2 separate regions of the Homo sapiens genome follow, and region 1 is linked to region 2. The links are contacts of gene promoters, found by promoter capture Hi-C in human tissues and cell types (Jung and others, 2019). All regions are on one chromosome and are shown on one strand. The core of a region is centred on a gene start or on the middle of the fragment in contact, and the rest is flanking DNA. Distances in the headings are between cores, read along the strand shown. Region 1 has its middle 180 kb from the start of CYP26A1. Region 2 holds the start of BTAF1 (B-TFIID TATA-box binding protein associated factor 1).

Evidence for each region. Contacts are between HindIII fragments. The study calls those that stand out against the background at their distance.
Region 1: a contact is called between a fragment that was not itself captured here and the fragment with the promoter of BTAF1 in region 2, in 1 of the 25 tissues and cell types used here (aorta).

What each region holds. Positions count from the first base shown.
Region 1 is chr10:93,251,305-93,254,243 of GRCh38, forward strand. No RefSeq gene overlaps it. Among named protein-coding and RNA genes, the nearest start is that of CYP26A1, 180 kb to the left of the region's middle. The HindIII fragment of the contact is 7,279 bases long and covers 1-2,939 here.
Region 2 is chr10:91,922,428-91,925,548 of GRCh38, forward strand. It overlaps BTAF1 (B-TFIID TATA-box binding protein associated factor 1), which reads left to right and starts at 1,343. Exons shown (of 38, transcript NM_003972.3): 1 at 1,343-1,663. The coding sequence starts at 1,650. RefSeq lists enhancers at 85-618, 966-1,075, 1,686-1,885 and a silencer at 1,326-1,625. The HindIII fragment of the contact is 3,578 bases long and covers 112-3,121 here.

The DNA of each region.
Region 1 (2,939 bases), core at 335-2,834, 1.3 Mb after region 2:
ATATGCGATGTAATTACAAAGGAAAATATTTATATTGATATACAGTTATCTATCTATTGATCTATAATCTATCTATATTTTTTGAGACAGGGTCTCACTCTGTCACCCAGCAAGAGTGCAATGGCACAGTCATGGCTTATGGCAGCCTTGAACTCCTGGGCTCAAGTGATCCTCTCACCTCAGGCTCCCGAGTAGTTGGGACTACAGGCACACACCACCATGCCTGGCTAATTTTTATATTTTTTGTGGAGATGGGGGTCTCACTTTGTTGCCCAGGTTGGTCTCAAACTCCCGGCCTCAAGCAAACCTCCAGTCTCAGCCTCCCAAAGTGTTGGGATTACAGGCACGAGCCACCACTTCTGACTTTCAATATGTTTTTTAAAAATTGGCCAGGTGCAGTGGCTTACACTGGGAGACCGAGGTGGGTGGATCACTTGAGGTCAGGAGTTCAAGACCAGCCTGGCCAACATGGTGAAACCCCGTCTCTACTAAAAATACAGAAATTAGCCTGGCGTGGTGGTGGGCACCTGTAATCCAAGGAAGCTGAGGCAGGAGAATCACTTGAACCTGGGAGGAGGTGGCTACAGTGAGCCGAGATTGCACCACTGCACTCCAGCCTGGGTGACAGAGTGAGACTCCGTCTCAAAAAAAAAAAAAAAAAAATTGATTATGATATAGAAAAATGTCAGCTCCTTTACTAAGGCAGATAATAAAATCCAGCACAGGCTTAATAACTACCCTAACTTGGAAAAAGCAATGAATGTAAGTGATATTTTGAGATATGCTATGAAAATATCAGTGATTTCCATTGCTAACAAAGTCCCAGGTATGGCTAACATTCCTGTGGTTTGTTGCCTACATTCATAATAGAAGAAAATGCTAAATTTCAGTTGGAGATTTGTGAAAATACAGATGATTATTTCTCATATAAGTCCAGGATCCCCTGGAATTCTCTTCCCAGGCCCTGGGAAATTCCAGCCATTACGAGCACACAGCTTTAGCGCTTGAGGAAAGCCTTCTTTATAACCCTCCAGGCCTAAAGTGAGGGCTCTAAATTCAAACTTTTTGGTTTGGGGTGATCTGTTCCTGGCTTGGCCCAGCTGTGTGAACTTGCCTCTCTGAGCCTCTGTTTCCTCATCTATGGTTGGACACCAATACCTGCCCCTTAGAAGTTATGGCGTCCTGTGACTAATGAGCCTCCTTTAAAAAGATGAATAGACCGGGCGTGATGGCTCATGCCTGCAATCCCAGCACTTTGGGAGACCAAGGCAGGCAGATCACTTGAGGTCAGGAACTTGAGACCAGCCTGACCCACATGGTGAAACCCTGTCTCTCCTACAAATACAAAAATTAGCTGGGCATGGTGGCAGGTGCCTGTAATCCCAGCTACTTGGGAGGCTGAGGCAGGAGAATCGCTTGAACCTGGGAGAAGGCGGTTGCAGCGAGCTGAGATCACGCCATTGCACGCCAGCCTGGGTGACAGAGCGAGATTCCATCTCAAAAAAAAAAAAAAAAAAAAAAAGAAAGAAAGAAAGGATAAAACCAGGCAAGCATTTTGGCCCAGGTTTATCTAAATCTCAAAAATCCCCTTCTCTATCCATGATGGATGGCAAGATAGAAAGCTTTTTACATCCATGTTTTCCAGAACCTCATTTTCTTCCTTCCATTCAGGGTAAACAACACAACTAAGCCAGACCCTGACTCTTCCTTCTATCTTAGTCTTTTGGGAGCCAAGATTGGCATCTTGTTTTCACAGACCCTAAGTTGTCTAAAACTTTTACATACCAGGGGGTGGTCTGGGATCCTATCAGGGGCCATAAAAGACCATAGGCAGCAAAGATAGGGGATCAGCAGGGATATGCTTAAACAATTCACTGGAAAAAGGAAGCCACAAAGGGAGGTTTACATGCAGGTGTCCAGGCATTCTAGTTATGTGCCTTAAGATAACCAAATCCGGGGTGAGGGGAGGGGGGAGGGATAGCTTTAGGAGATATACCTAATGCTAAATGACGAGTTAACGGGTGCAGCACACCAGCATGGCACATGTATACATATGTAACTAACCTGCACATTGTGCACATGTACCTTAAAACTTTAAGTATAATAATAATAAAATAAAAAAGAAAAACCCAATAATAGTTCTACAACATTAAAAATTATAGTCAAAATAATTTAAAAATACATAACTCATATTTTTGTAATCAGAAGAAATGTTTATTAAAAATACAAAAACATAAAAAAAACAAAAAAAGATAACCAAATCCCTGGCTGAAGATGGCAGACAGGAATGCACTAAATTTGCTGCCTGTTGAACAGGTTTAGTCTCTTCTGTTTTTTGTTGTTGTTGTTTTATTTTGAGATGGAGTCTCGCTCTGTCACCAGGCTGGAGTGCAATGGAGCAATCTCAGCTCACTGTAACCTCCGCCTCCGGGGTTCAAGTGATTCTCCTGCTTTAGCCCCCTGAGTAGTTGGGACTACAGGCACCTGCCACCACGCCCAGCTAATTTTCATATTTTTAGTAGAGACGGGGTTTCACCATGTTGGCCAGGATGGTCTCAATCTCTTGACCTCGTGATCCGCCCACCTCGGCCTAGTGCTGAGATTACAGGCATGAGCCACTGTGCCCGGCCTAGTCTCTTCTGTTTTAATACTGAACATTTCATACTGAAATCTTTTTTTAAACTATGAGATAGGATAATACTAACTAGCTCATAAGATAATACTAACTGGCTCATAAGATTGTGGATTGATTGAGATAATGCTTATGGAAGCTCTTGTCCAACCCGAGCTGAAGCTGCAACACCACTGGGAGGGGATTTGGGTGCTCTCCACCCCCTTACCCCAAGAACTGTTTGCACGAATTGATGTGCACATCAGTTTGGTTCTTAATTGAGAGAAAATGGTGGAGTTCCTCCCACCAACCTCTGCCTCAGGAGTAC
Region 2 (3,121 bases), core at 93-2,592:
TTTCCTTGTCTACGAAGATTAAAACTAACTTTTCAAGGCTTCCCTACAAATTATATGGATAATGCATGTCATGTGCCCAGCACACAGCAGGTACTTGTTAGTTTCTTTCTCTTTACATACATATATACTACTTTATGGTTTACAAAGTTCTTGTAAGCTCTTCTAGATTCATGACCTCATTTTATTCCCACAATCTTCTGCAGTACTTCTCATTAGCCTCATTTTACAGATGAAAAACAGACTCAAGGATTGAGACATAGCCTCTTCAGGTAATGAGAAGCCAATGGACATGCTTTATAAGCATAGGAGCGACATGATAAAAAGCAGTGAGGTTTTTTGAAGATTAATCTGTTGGCCTATAAAATGGGCTGAACTGAAAATTGGAGAAATATTATTTTGACTACTAGCATAAAAATCAAGTTTAAGGGCCGGGCGCAGTGGCTCACACCTGTAATCCCAGCACTTTGGGAGGCCGAGGCGGGCAGATCACTTGAGGCCAGGAGCAGGAGACAAGCCTGGCCTACATGGCGAAACCCCGTCTCTACTAAAAAATACAAAAAATTGGCCCGGCGTGGGGCTCGTGTGCCTCCCAGCTACTCGGGAGGTTGAGGCACATTTAGAATCGCTTGAACCCGGTAAGCGCAGGTTGGCAGTGAGCCGAGATCGCGCCACTGCACTCCAGCCTGGGCGACAGAGCGAAACTCGGTCAAAAAAAAAAAATCAAGTGTAAGATGATAAGGGCCTGGCAGAAGTGTTTAAAAGCCTAATGAACTTAAAAATATTGAAAAGCCAGATAAGTCCCCCAAAGGAACAAAAATTTAAAAATGGTAGTTTTCAAATCTGGCTGGCTGAGAAAATGATGGTACAAACAACATAAACAATTGAGAAATCAAACTTGGCAAAATCGTTGGTCAGAAGACCTTCTCTCCAATACCTAGGCAGAACTTCTGGCAAATAATGACAAACATCTGAGCCATTTCTTCAGTGTCATAGCGACTTTTTGCTTTCACTCCTCCCACTGGCTTCACCACCTGGACAAGAGCATGTTAAGGTCCTTCTGATCTTGCTTCCTAGATGCAGTACGGTGGGAAGCAGAATCTGGGTAGTGTGGAATTAGAAACCAAGCTTTCGAAGTTCCAGGACTTGGACTAAATCGCCTTTTTCCTTCTCTGTCAAATAAGGGGACCCTTACTTCACCTCCTTCCCTAGTTTTAAGACTAGACACCCTCTCCACATCAGCACAAAGCGCTTTTATTTAGGCGCGTGCCGCCAAACCAAAGGCGCTCGCGCCGAGCTAAGCTCCTGTCGGTGAGCTTACGTCACTTCCGGCGCGCTGACGCTCAGTTGTGCGTGCCGACGCCCGCGTCAGCAAAGAGCGGAGCTGAGGGTACCCGGTTTGAAGTCGTGCGGGTCGGAGGACTGCCGCCTCCGCTACCGTCTTGGACCCCTGCTTACCGGCCGCCGCGGGGACGAGCTCGGGTAGGCGGCAGGGCAGATGCCCGAGGGCCTGCGCTGGAACGCCCCACGCCGCACCGGCCGCTCCCCTGTGCTCCGCGGCCTGGGCCTGCGCCGCTCAGCTCTCTGGAAACTAGCGCCTCAGCTGCGCGGCGCGTAGGTCGCGGGGAGCTCCGAACCGCCGGCGCCCGGCCATGGCGGTCTCCAGGTGGGTCTTGCTCCTGACGAGCAAACTGGAAGGCGATTCAGGGAAGGCATGGTCTCCTCTTAGAGCCCCCACTCCTAGAGAAGAGCGGTTCTCATTGTCACTGGGCTCTGGAGCTTTCTTCAGTAGACTTCGGAGTTCGCCCCGTGGTCGGCGGGGGTTTGGGCTCGGGTTACTCCTGGGTAAATCGGTTCAATAATGCCTTTTTCTTGTTAATAGACCCCTTGGCACGTTAGAGCTGTTTTTTCTCTTTCCTCACCATGTTTCTGTTCTCTGGTTTCTCTTCCCTCTTTCGATTCTAGGGGAGTCTCTTATCTTTCTCAGTATTCTAAGGCTGGTCCCTAACCTCCATTTCATGGGAAAACTTGGTAGTTACTGTCGATGGAGGGGAAACCTGAATTACTATTATCTAAGAGACCGTCTAATTATGTTACCAGTTTTAATTTACGTTTTTAGGGGTATGTTCTTTCCTGAGATGTTTTTTAAAATTAAGTATAATTTCTCCTTTTGTTTGGCAGTAAACATTCCAACGTCAGCGTTGTAACCTTAAGCCAATTATCGTATTAGCATCATTTTCCGTAACTAAGGCGTGGAAGATAAATCACAGATCTTATATTCTTTTGAAATATTGCCTGTCAACAGGAAAGCCCAGGAAAACTATAGAAAAACTAACGACATTTATTTGTATAGCTATAGGAGAAACATTACTTTTTCCTCCGGTATGATAGAATGGTTGGAAAGCTTTTGTAAGCGGAATTTGGTGACCCTCTGTACATGTAATTAAGGGATAGTTCCTCTGTGATAGTGATCGGATGGATTCACCAAGTTCCTTAGAGTTGATATGGTAACTTTTAATGAGAATTGGATTCTTTTACCATATAGACTGAAGGAATAAATGATGAAAACAAATAGTTTTCATTTTTTTATAATTAACTGAACACATTCTTTGAGCGTATTAAGTGCACAAGTTTTATCTGTTTTGCAAGGGAAAGGATAACCCATTCCTTACAGACTCCCTAGATGACTGATGAAATAGTGTGTGGGAGAAGCCCATGGGAGTTGGGTGAAGGGGGTTGCTAGGTACCGTAGTATGGGGCATCTGATTTTTATTTTATAATCTATTCAATGTGAGGAAATTTTTTTTTAAATAAAACTGCCTTGAGAGAATACAAGTGACATTTTACATTTTTGCAAATATAGAAAGGTGTATCTTCTAATTTGTTACCTCCCATATAAATGCATGAATATATACATTGTAAATGCATTGATATGTAAACTTAATATAACATTTATCAGGTAATAGTGTTTAAGGAGATGAGTACTTCTTTTCTTAGAGCAACCTGTGCATTTTCACAGGATTGGATGTAGCTTTATAAAGACAAAATGAAAGTGTTTAAAAAGAACCTAATTTTCGGGCAACGCTAATCTCTTTTTTTTTTTTTGAGAAGGAATCTGGCTCTG